2 separate regions of the Homo sapiens genome follow, and region 1 is linked to region 2. Evidence: promoter capture Hi-C in 16 types of primary human blood cells and fetal thymus (Javierre and others, 2016). All regions are on one chromosome and are shown on one strand. The core of a region is centred on a gene start or on the middle of the fragment in contact, and the rest is flanking DNA. Distances in the headings are between cores, read along the strand shown. Region 1 has its middle 98 kb from the start of RBMS3-AS1. Region 2 holds the start of OSBPL10-AS1 (OSBPL10 antisense RNA 1).

Evidence for each region. Contacts are between HindIII fragments. The CHiCAGO score rates a contact against its expected background, and 5 or more counts as called.
Region 1: a fragment that was not itself captured here is called in contact with the fragment with the promoter of OSBPL10-AS1 in region 2 in 1 of 17 cell types (non-activated CD4 T cells); the score reaches 5.1 in non-activated CD4 T cells.

Annotation. Positions count from the first base shown.
Region 1 is chr3:30,029,354-30,035,290 of GRCh38, forward strand. No RefSeq gene overlaps it. Among named protein-coding and RNA genes, the nearest start is that of RBMS3-AS1, 98 kb to the left of the region's middle. The HindIII fragment of the contact is 2,068 bases long and covers 1,951-4,018 here.
Region 2 is chr3:31,700,933-31,707,347 of GRCh38, forward strand. It overlaps OSBPL10-AS1 (OSBPL10 antisense RNA 1), which reads left to right and starts at 3,281. Exons shown (of 5, transcript NR_049771.1): 1 at 3,281-3,307. OSBPL10 (oxysterol binding protein like 10) reads right to left here. Exons shown (of 12, transcript NM_017784.5): 7 at 1,427-1,576. It overlaps LOC124909360 (a long non-coding RNA gene), which reads right to left and starts at 1,418. Exons shown (of 2, transcript XR_007095858.1): 1 at 1-1,418. The HindIII fragment of the contact is 3,023 bases long and covers 711-3,733 here.

The sequences.
Region 1 (5,937 bases), core at 1,735-4,234, 1.7 Mb before region 2:
TGGGCTGTGGTGGATAGGTGTGTCCTGAGATTCTGGCTCCAAGGCTGCTGGACCCAAGACTACACTTTGAGTTACAAGGATAGGAGGACACAGTGTATTTTGGATTTTCACCCATTAGAAGAATTTCAAAAATAACTCTAATTATAATCAGCTTTGTATATTTCTCCATATACAAACTAGTTCAAATCATTACTGTAGTAGATTCAAATAAATAAATTTATCATCAAGTAAAAAACATTTCCAGCTTTTTTACCAGAAACACAAAGATTGTTAATTTCAGAGTTAAATCATTAGGAGACATGAGATAAATGGCAAAAGTACTTTAGTGTTTACTGAACATTTAATTAATTCATTTGAATTTATAGTTTTGACTTTGCAAGGCTGAGGTTCTTGAAACATGTTTTCCTTAAACACTAGCTGTTGTGTTCTTAACCTCAGAATCAGACAAACTGAACATTCAGTGCAGCCAACCACACATACAAACACACACATTAAAGCTAAATTTACTCTGTCCCTGTAGCATCCCCAAATGTGTATGAAGAAACCATTCTAGACATTTCTATCAGGGTCCGACCCCGCCCCGTACTAATTTTCAAGCTCTGAGACGAAATGAGAAGGCAACAGTGTGTAATTAGGGAAATCTATGATTTACACATTAATGAGCAAAGAAATGCAACCCACAGAGGGAAGAATGAAATTGTGGCCAGCTAATAAGTGTCTGTACTTATTAAGGCTAAAGAAACAACCTATGAAACAAATCTAAGCCTTTCCTAAACAGTGCAGGATAATTATATTTGGCATGAGTTCCACAGGGAAGATGCAGCTTCAGAAGCTTAAAGAACAGAGAAATGGGAAGAGGAGAGCCAGCTGAAGATATAAGTAAAACATTTTTCAGATATATCACAGATGAGGGAAAGGATAATGGTGAGAAAAAAAGACACTGAAGGCCATGGGGAAAAGGAGGAAAAATGAAATATGCCTTTTTAACCTCAGCCTTCATTCTGGAAGATGATGGGAAAATTTAAATTTCAAAGTCATCCACAAGAACTTGGAGAATAACCTTGATGGAAAATTTCTAGCAGGACTACCGAGATCTTTAATGCCAAAAATCAAAAGAAACAGATGAACAGTCCCTTGAAGAATTTATTCCTCTCCTGATGGTAACTTTGTTAAACACTGACTCTTATACTGGAAATGATGAAACAAATGTTATTTCTGCCTGTGAGAAGTTACAGTGGAGGGAAGAGTCTACAAACAGACATACTCATACACTGCAGCAGTCTATATATGCAAGGCCAGTAAAAACTCTGGGCCTTTTTCTCACTGGGAGCTTTGGGTTCAAACCCCAGATCCTCCATTTACTAAGAAATAAGTGACACCTTGAGGAAGACACTTTATCTTTTAGAATATCTGGTTACTTATCTTCAAAATGGAAATGATAATATGTCTAAGACAAGACTGTTGAGAGAATTAAATATGAGAGAGCCCAACTTGCAAACACATAATATTTATTTTTGTTTACTTTCTATCTGAATTAAAGCATTCTGCAAAGGGCCAAGTTTAAGGATGATGTCATGGACATTCACAATAGTAAATGTGCTTTCCTTACTATTTCCCTTCCTTCTTTTTCTCTATCCCTCCCTTTTTTCCTTTTAACATTACCAAAAATGTCATAATAATGAATACAATTGCTCTACTTGGAGAGCTCAGAGTGGAATAAACAGAATTGTAAATCATTTCAGAGCAATGCAGCAAATTTTGTAGCAAGGTGAATCATAGTTATTGGAGAAGAATTAAGAATGAGACCTCTAATTATGGGCAGAGGGAATGGAAAGTTAAAGCTCATGGTAGTAAAAGTGTCTGGTAAAGGGTTTATAGAGGCAGTGACATCCAAGATAAGTTCAGACGAGATCAGGTGCATTCAGGGTGGCATGGCTATACACCAAGATAAGCTTAGGATGCCCAAATGGACCTAGTTCTAGTTATTATCTTATCCCCAGTTCCTAGCACAGTGCCTGATACATAGTTGAAGGTTAATAAATTATAATTAAATGGATAAATGATGGTGGTGGACAAAGAGTAGATTGGGCTCTCTAGACCAATGATTATAAATCATGGCTGAATATCAGAAGAACCTTAGGAAATTCTAACACTATAGTTTTAGGATGAAGTCCAGGATGATGAATTTTCATAAAGCTCCACAAATAATTTTGTAATGCATGCTCATGTAAGAATCACTGTACTCAAAAGGGAGAATTGCACATGTTGAGAATCAGAGACCCAAGGCTGCTTATTACAGGTAGATCATTAAGAATGCATCAAGAAGTAGCCTAAGGCATTTGGGATAGAATTATCAACAAAGCAAAGGAAGTTCTTCTCTCCCACTTATGAGGGAGGATGGGACCTAAAAATATTTTTTTTCAGTTGATATATAGTAGTTGTACATATTTTGGGGGTACATGTGATATTTTCATGCGTATATACAATAATCATGTATGTAATGATCTAATCAAGGTAACTGGGATATCCATCACTGCAAACATTTATCTTTATGTGGGAACATTACATTCCTTCTAGCTATTTTGAAATATATAACAAATTATGGTTAACTATAATTTTCCTACTTTACTATCAAATACTAGAACTTATTCCTTCTGTCTAATAGTATTTTCATCCCCATTCACTAACTTGTCTTTCTCCTCCCTTCTCCCTTCCCTTTCCAGCCTCTGGTAACCACCGTTCTACTTTCTATGTCCATGAGATCCACTTTTTTAGGCCCCACACCTGAGGGAGAATATGAGATATCTGTCTTTGTATACCTGGCTTATTAAACTTAATGACCTCTAGTTCTATCTATGTTGCTGAGAATGACAAGATTCAATTCTTTTTATGGCTGAATAATATTTTGTTGTGTATATATGACACATTTTCTTTATTTGTTCATTTGTTGATGGACACTTAGGTTGATTCCATATGTTGGCTATTGTGAATTGTGCTGCAATAAACATGAGAATGCAGATCTCTCTTCAATATACAATTTCCTTTCTTTTGGATATATACCCAACAGTGAGATTGCTGGATCATATGGTAATTCTATTTTGTTTTTTTGAGAAGTTTTAATACTGGTTTCCATAATCGCTAGACTCTTTACATTTTGCTAGATGACTGGCCTCACCTGAATCTCCTAAAACCTAGTAACAAGGTCTGGTGTGCAGGTAGTTATATTTGGAGTTGATTCCTAGAAACAGGGCCAGAGAACGTGTAAAAGAAGGAGAAAAAAGGAGTGTGCTATTGAGTTGGCAAACAACATGGGCAACTTCATCTAAACAGACCTTCTGAGGAGCTTCCAAAACAACTTTCAGAATTTCCCACCAGATCATCTCGAAAAAGAAACATTTATCAACTCCAGTACCCACTGAAGGTTGCCCTAGGGTGTACTAACTCCTCTGTACTTCTACGTATGCCAAAAAGAGAAACCCTCAGCCGAAAAGCAAAAGATGTGCTATACACACTTAAGAGTGAGCTGCTAGGAGAGCAAGATGAGTTAAATTTCATATGGAACTAGGCAAAAGCCACAGTGGACATCAGAGATGAAGCTGAGGGGATGGAGGTAAGAGGGATACAGCAGGAATCTGGTACCTTGACCTTCAAGATTTATTTTAATAAATTATCTAAGCTCATTCAACTTATTTGCAGCACATGTTAAGAATTATTACCCCCTCATCAGAGCACATCCTTTAGTTGATGTATGTGTATTTAACCTATTATTTTAGAATTTGGCATAATTATTGGCTGTGTCCTCATCTGAATATATAGAATTTCTCACAACATCCTACTTTACATAGTAGGTAGGTCATCTATAATTGCTTGTTTAGAAAAATTATTTATGAAGATTTTGTTACTCTCTTTTGGCATCACACTACAAAAACATTTTTTTCCAGGTTTCATGATAAGTAATAAAATTACCTCATTCTATAAATGAAGATAATATTATATCTCAATCCACCATAATCAAATAAGCTTAAAGGCACCATTGGAAATACGGATATCTATATATATGGTGTTGCCAAGGAAGGTTGACTGAATGAAGTAGTATTCTGTTCATCTTAGTAAATTCTTCAAAATCCTTCCTCCAAACCTCAGGCTTTCATATGTAGGAACTCACTTTCTCAGTGCCTCAAATTTTATCAGGATCATGAATGCTAATCAGATATAGATAGATGTGTCAGCTTCTTGAATCAAAATCTACATGTATTTTGTTCGCTATGTATAAAGTATCCCCATGGCCTCAACTAAAATGCCTTCTGGGACTCGGCAGGGAATGTGAATAAGTGACATTATAGGAGTGCAGACCCAGTGGGAATTGGACAGTATATGCCCTATTTAAAGGCACCCAATTATTATTATTTCAAAATACTATGTGGCTAAATAAAGTAATGATAATAACAAAAACAATAAACTGTTATTGATGTTATCTAATAGTTGGTAGAAATAAACACTTTATTATTAGTATTATCATTATTATCATCATTATCATTATATTTTCATCTTATGTACTCTACTATTTGATTTATGAAATTTAAATATTATCCTTTGGCTCCCACATGTTATCTATTCAGCAACCAATACATTTATTCAATTTTCCTCTTTCTTCTTTTTTATGTTTATTTCTACTAGATCAGGTCACATAACCTTATGTACTCTTGTTCCTCCCTTGTCTTCAGCTTTGTTGTATTGCTAGATCTTAAAAAAATGTCTAGCCAATGTTTACTTTACTCCTTCTGTTCAGGTTTTTCTTGCCATATCCCCATTGGATGAAGGTCTTCCTTTGGTCCACCCTTCAAGAAAGGGTCTGGAGTATAATATCCCTCAAGTCTTTGAATGTTTAAATTTGCTTTCCTACAGTTTCAATACTTGAAAGACATTTGGCTGGATGTAAAATTGTGAGTCATATATCTTTTCCTTGAATTTACTGAAATTTCTTGTACCACTATTATTTATTTTGCTTATTACTGTCAAGATCCTACTGATCTTATGTTTCATAAGAAATGTGGTCTTTTTGGCACAGCGTGGTGGCTCCTGCTTATAATCCTAGCACTTTGGGAGCTGGGGCAGGAAGATCACTAGAGCTCAGAAATTTGAAACCAGCCTGGGTAACACAGTAGGAAGGAAGGAAGAAAGGAAGGAAGGAAGGAAGGAAGGACAGAGAGAGAGAGAGAAAGAAAGAAAGAAAAGAAAGGAAGGAAGGAAGGAAGGAAGGAAGGAAGGAAGGAAGGAAGGAAGGAAGGAAGGAAGGAAAAGAAAGAAAAGGGAGGGAGGGAGGGAGGGGAAAGAAAAGAAAAGAAAGGAAAGAAAGGGAAGGGAAGGGGAGGGGAGGGAAGGGAAGGGAAGAAAGAGAGAGAAAGAGAGAAAGAAAGAGAGAAAGAAAGAAAGAAAGAGAGAGAGAGAGAGAAATGTGGTCTTTTTATTCTGGAATAACCAATTTTTTTATTTCTATAGCATTAAAGCCTGTCAGTCTGTTCTCTAGGATGTGTCCCAACCTTGATTCTCCAGGAATATTGACCCCTTTCAATAAATAGATTGAGATTTTCTATTTCTGGAAAGTTTTCTTTGATTATAGTTTTAAATAGTTAGTTTTAAACATTAGTTTGTTTCATTGTTTTTCTTGGATCTTCTGCCTATCTTCTGTATCACTTTATCACTCTTTCTTTTTCTCGTCTGCTTCATTCCTCTCCTTAATGTCTTTTCTATTTTAGTTGATACTTCACTACCTAGGTTACTTGTCATTTTGTCTTTTTTTTCCCCTTTTGGAGACAAGGTCTGGCTCTGTCACCCAGGCTGGAGTGCGGTGGCGCGATCTTGGCTCACTGAAACCTCTGCCTCCCTTCAAGCAATTCTTGTGCCTCAGCCTCCCAAGTAGCTGGAACTACTGGCAAC
Region 2 (6,415 bases), core at 2,031-4,530:
GTGGAGGATGGTGAAGAAGGAACTTTCTATGTCTGGCGTCCTCAGTGTGGGCCCACTGTTTTGTTTAAAGTGGTGCAGTCTCCCAGAATATCAGACACGCTCACATTCAAACCCATGAAAACACTTCAAAGAAAAGATTTGTCTGTCATCTGAGAGGCTCCTATCTCCTCAGTCTCTCTCCTGTCTTCTATAAATGGTTAGTCACTCTGTTCTGTCATCTTCCTCCTCAAAGAATTCCTCACACTACTGCCGCTTCCCTCTCTCTTCTCTTGCCCCCTGCCTAGTCCGAGATGAGATTGTGGAATCCAGAGCCTCCACTGTGGCCAACCAAGCCAACTGCCCTTAGGGCTGTTCCCCAGGCTGTGCCTTCAGTGGCTCTGACATCCATATTTTTCTAGCTGGCCTTCAGAATCTAGAACTTCCTTCCCCAGCACACCCTCCCCGCAGATCATGTCTGTCTGTCTGTGTAACAGCTGCTTCTCTACCCTACCACAGTCGAACCACATAACATAGCATTTCGTAAGGATAAGATGGTGACGCACTTGCTAGGAGCTCAGCACTGGGTTAGGTCCTCCGCACGCCTCATGCGATTCTCACACCACCGTGCCAGGAAGGCTCCCAACTGGAGTAACTGGCTGGGAGTGGAGCCCAGGAAGGCTGAACTCCAGGCTCTTTCTACCACCTGACAATGGCCCCAGTGACACCACACAAGCTTTCAGCTACGTACAAAATTGCCTTTCCTGCTTGCCTCTAGAATGAAGCTACTGACTAGAGGTGAGGGGTGACGTATGTGGGACCCTCTCCATGACGTTAGTGGTCAGGACACTGGTTCTGTTGGTGAGGTTCCTCAGGAAGCATCCTGCCTGCACTCAGCACCAAGAAGAGTTGGTTCCACTTCTACCTATGGCAATGAGATTTGGATCAGCAACAAGGTTACCCTTGGGGACCAGCTGTTACAGCTAAGGACAGCCCTCAGAAGGTCGTGAGGTTGGGCGTGTAGAGTGGCGTCATTCCTGGTGCCACCATTTCCCTTCCCCATCTTTTCCCTCTATGGCCACTGTGCATAGCCATCTCTATAGGCCACCTACAGTTATCTCTAGAACATAGCAAGAAACAAAGAAATAGTACCTTGAATTTTCCATACCATCTCATATGCTTTTTCTGATGTTCTCCCTGCCCTTGTAGAGTAGCAACAACTCCTCCCAAGATCAAATGCAGGGCTGTCCAGCCCTGAGGATAACCATTTATGTACAAATGTCCTTTCAAATTATACCTGGAATATCCATACTTGAAAGCAATGCTGGCCTTTTTCCCCACTCTTCTTCTCCAATCTCACCACAACGAAAAGAATGTGCATAGAGAAGGCTTGAGGATAGAGACAGAACCCCAACAACTGACCACAAATCCAGGGGACATGCCAACCTACCTTGGTCAAATCCATTCCAAGTTTGAGTTGTGAAATGAGATGAAGAATTATACTACGCTGATCCTCCATGACGCCCAATTCCGTCTCTTCCTTATCTTCATTGTCACTTTTTTCATCTTCAGACAAAACCAATTCAGAGCCTGAGTTTGGCTAAAATGAAATAATCAATAAAAATCACCAGCTGGCCCAATAGAAGTTAGAAATAAAGTGTATGAATTCACATGCTTTGCAATGACAGAAGAAACCCAATCCTGTCCCGGGCAGAGCTCCTCTGTGACCCAGTCCTATTGGCCACGGGGCAGACAAGTCCCCTGGGGGTCGGACCTGTGCCTTGGACACTGCATATCCCCTTTCATCTCTCCCGTCATCCCTGATTAGTGAGTGTAAGGACTTCCCCTGACAAAACAGCTCCCTGTTCTTTAAGAAACTAACTATAGTATATGGGTATGAGCCCCCTTCATTTTGCCTATTAGCAAGTAGGAGTTTACCAAAGTTAGACTCCTGTTAACTTGCACAATCCAGGCCACTTCATATCTAATATAAATTTTTCTGTTTATAAGTAAAAGTTGGATTATCCAGGGACTAAAATTATTTATGGAAAAACGTGCTCTAAGACTATTTCTACCCAAATCAATTAGGATCACTCTAGCAGGTATAAGAAAATGCTGAGAATTGGCATTAATTTAGGGAGGAAGACAACAAATGAAAATTTAAGGCAAAACTGAAACTTTATGATACTACTGGGATTCACACTGGCCAACATACCCTGCTTTCCTCGATGCAAGTTTATTAATTCAATCACTCAATTCCAATTTTTCACATTACATAGAAAACAGGCAACTTAATAAACTGGGCAAGGGGATTATTGCACATAAAATTTTCCAGTATCCAAGTATTAAGGACTCTGGTTACAAGGTTAACTTGCCCTCAGAATTCTATTGAAAGAAGTATCCACATTCCACACTCCACATTTACCTATGTTCTTATGATGCTTGCTTACATATAAGCAAAAGCACTCTGCACAGAACATTATACATTTCTTTCCAATTATCAATAACAGGTCAGACATAATATACAGAAATTCAGAAGCTCAAAGATGTTAAACATGAAAGGATACAGACTTGTCCAAATGTCCATGCAAAAAACGAACAATTTACTAACCTCATTAGACAGAATCATCTTATATCTACAGGCACTTCTAACATACAAAGGTTATTTTAGTGGTCAAGGTGTTTAAAATTGTCTGGCCTTACATACCCACACGGACCATTCCTTTCCAACATTCCAAAGAGAGGTAATAACGGTGTTCCTTCCCTCCTGGGGTAGGCATTTTTAAAACTTCAACGTAAATAGACGTTTTCCACAGACATACTCCTAAGGTGTTCTCAATCAGCTCTAAATAACCCCAATTCTAAAGAGATGGTTGGGAAGATCTCAGTGAAGCCCACAGGATATTCCCCCAGCCAAAAGCTGAGTTTTCTTTTATTATGTGCCCAGTTCTCTAGCCACCTCATAATGGGTATTATCTGACGTCATTGGCAAGTTGCTTTGCTAGATTATGCTGAAATAATTGAGGAATCCTTACCTATGCTAACCCTGAGAGGAAGAGCCAGAGAGGGAAGTCTCTGAGCTGTGAGCTACCCTGATTCTACACTGGGAAGTTAGGGGTAGAAGCACACAGGAGCCCAGCACTTACAGCCAGTGGCCCTGGGGGTCTCCTCCAGCTCCACCTCATGACACCCCGTGCTGCTGCGTGACTGCTCCTGGTGCCAAGGCCACCGCTGCCATGAGTCTGAATGGCTAATGCTGAGATTAGCAGGGCCTCCCTTCTACTGGCCTGTCCTCCTGGCTCTCCTCCCTTTTGCCTCTTCTGGATTTCAGGTCAGTTTGAAAGTGGGTGGCTGTCTCAGCTCCCTGTGAGCTTCCATTTCCAGTCTACGCTACGGAAGTCAGAGAGCTCAGACACAAATCCCTCCCAATGGCAAAGGTGCTATAGCTGCAACTTCCTCTGCAGTGACCCGGTGGGCAGTAATCTGTATTAGCAGAATTCCTCTCATGCCAGCACCAGCTGGGGGAGGAGAGGGTAGTGCCTGGGCATTCTGCTTTGGGAAGAAAAAGGACAATCAAAACCAAGTGAAATCCAACCACCATGGTGTACCCAACAGGTGGAGTGGGCTGCAAAGTCCTTAAACATCTCAACAGGAGAAGTAGCTCCATTTTGCGGGCAATTATTTTCTGCTTGAAATTAGCTGTTCTCACCAAGAATGGACTGCATACTAAATCAATTGCTCCACTGAGGCTGCCATAAGCTTCATGAAGCAAAGAATGATTCATTCTTCTAAAGCTGTGATTTCCTATTTGCTCACAAGCCATTGCAGGGGAAATCCTCATCTTTCCCACTCACTGCTACACTCACTGTGATGTGTTTATAGACCTTCGGGGACCACACCTCCTCCAGCTGTCTGCCTTACTCGAAAATTAGACCCAGCTTGTCCCTGACTTCTAGTAGCCAGAAAGTCTTCCACAAGATCCAGCCGCATGATACGGAGTACACACATAAATGTGAAAACAAACCCCTCCATCCTTTCCCACTGTAAATCAACAGCACATGCCCTCTGTGTCTGACAATTCCTCTCAAAGACAGTGGCTCCAGCAGAGGAAATTAAGGCTGGTGCAGGTGCCCCAGAAGCTGAGTCATCCGGGATGACTGGTGGCCCTGAAGTCCCGCCCACAGAAGGACGGCCATGGGAGCCTGGCACACTGCCCCTTGGTGGCACAAATCCTGAGCAAGCCATGCCCTAACCTTAAACAAGGACCTAGGACTGTTTTCTCTCCCACAGCCTCTGAGAACTTGCCCTTTCTCTCCCAATGTGATTTGTAAACAATTCTCCTACCCAGCCTCAAGTAAATATCAGAGTTAAGCTGGTTTCATACACCATGTTGACAGTAAACATCTTAGAGGACACTTTCAATCCACCCACACTGCAGCTCAGTCCATCTGCACAAAGAGAAGACCCCCCCCCCCACCCCCATCGCGGTCCAACTTGGGGGTACATAGATGGAAAGGCAGCAGTAGTCAGCAGGTCAACTCTGTCTGAAAGAGGTCCATGGCAATGTAAATACCAATCTACTGGCAACCACAAAGCACCCACATAGACAGGCACTGCAAGGAATGGAGGGTTTGAAGAAGCAGGTCTTGATGGAGTTTTAAAGACACAAAACCTCCTTCCCTTTCAGGGTCAAGGGTTTGTTGATTCCGCTACTCTGATGTGGAATTCAAAGAGATGGATAATTATCATCCTTTCTAAGTGCTGTTTTCCATAATCAGGTCCCCGTGCTTATCCACATCCACACTCCCCTTCTCTCACAAAGTCCTACTTGTCTCCTGGGAGCCCCTGCACGCCTCCCCTCTCTGAATCTCTGCGAATTTTCACTTATAAAACAGTAACAACTCTCTCAAGGTCATCAAAAATGGCAGAACAGTGTTCCCCCATCTCTGAAAAATATGAATGTGAGAAACGGTTTCATACTGCTGAGAGAATTTATAAGACTTAAGCAGAAGAATCTTCAGATCCCCCATCCCCCAGAGATTTTTGCAAATGAGCCAGCCCAGCCACAAAAATGTATGCAAACTTGAAGATAAAATGGAATTAAAATATGTTTTAAAGAGAAGCAGGCTTTGGAAAAATGAGGATTTTAATAAAAACAGAAATTACGACAATATTTCTACCACACAAGCACCTCAGGGCATATGGTGCTACAAAAATCAAGCAACTGTGCCTATTAGCAAATGGGGAGAACGATAAGCGAAAAATCAATGGGCAGGAAAAAGCTTCACGGGCAGGCTGGGGTTTAGGGACATTCCCTGGTGACCCACAGTGACCTGTGCCCGGAGCAAGGGTTCTTGGCCTGGGTCACATGGACAGCCCTTAAGATATCCACCCCCATCCTTGAAATTTTATGCAAAAATTGTAAGTCTGGGCATTTTTCTGAAGAGGGGGTCCATAGCTCCCCTTGGATTCTTAGAAGGGTCTCTGCCCCTTCGCTGACCTCCAGCCTCTTGAGGACCAAAGGCTGAGACCATGTGAGAGATGGGGTCTTGGGCTGGGAATGGTCCAATCCAAGACAGTCACAGCATCTACAGATGTGACTCTGCCCTTAACCATGGGCCTCTGCTTCTTATCTAGTAAGGAGAAGGAGATATATGGGGCTATGCCACCGAGGCCAAAGCCAGGAGGCAAAACTGTGACGTGTGTTAGGTTTGTGTGGGTCCAACAGTCTTCTCAATGGGAACATCAATGTGGGAGAAACATTTAGCTTTGCTTTCATCTCTTAAACAAATATCTTAATTCTTCAATACAAATGCAGATTTCAAGCATGACTGAAATGCCAATCTTTTTATTCAATACATATATGTAATGTAACTACAGTTTGTGTCCCTCCCAGGAAAAAGCATGAAATAGACATTTGTCTGCAGAGTCCACTCATTTCCCTGTCACAGGCTTCGTTCACTCCACCCATGTCCCCAAAGGTACTCTCTTTCCTGGCACTTCACTCCTGCTTTCCCCTCCTCAGACAGATGACTCCCACCCCACCCCACCCTTCCTGCTTTAGTGAACTGCCTTCTCTCTTAACCTAGACCTGGCCTTCAGGTAGCTGGGGTCAACACAAGCAGTTTGATCTACTAACATCTCCTTTATTTGTACATGGCCTTATAACCTAATATCTTAATTCAGAGGACTGAATCCTCACTGGTTAGATTTGAGATATCATGGCAGAAGCCTGCGTGGTTCCATTACCTAACCATTAAAGATGCATTTTGCCTTTGGACAGGGAGCTTTTCTGTGCCAAACCAGGAATCACAGACATGCAGGGGCAAGAGGGTCTACTCTAGCACGGATTAAGACGACCTCCTAAAGCCATCTTATGCCCAAGTAAATAAGTATCCAATAAACAGACAATATCTCAACAGAAAAACAGCACCCACTG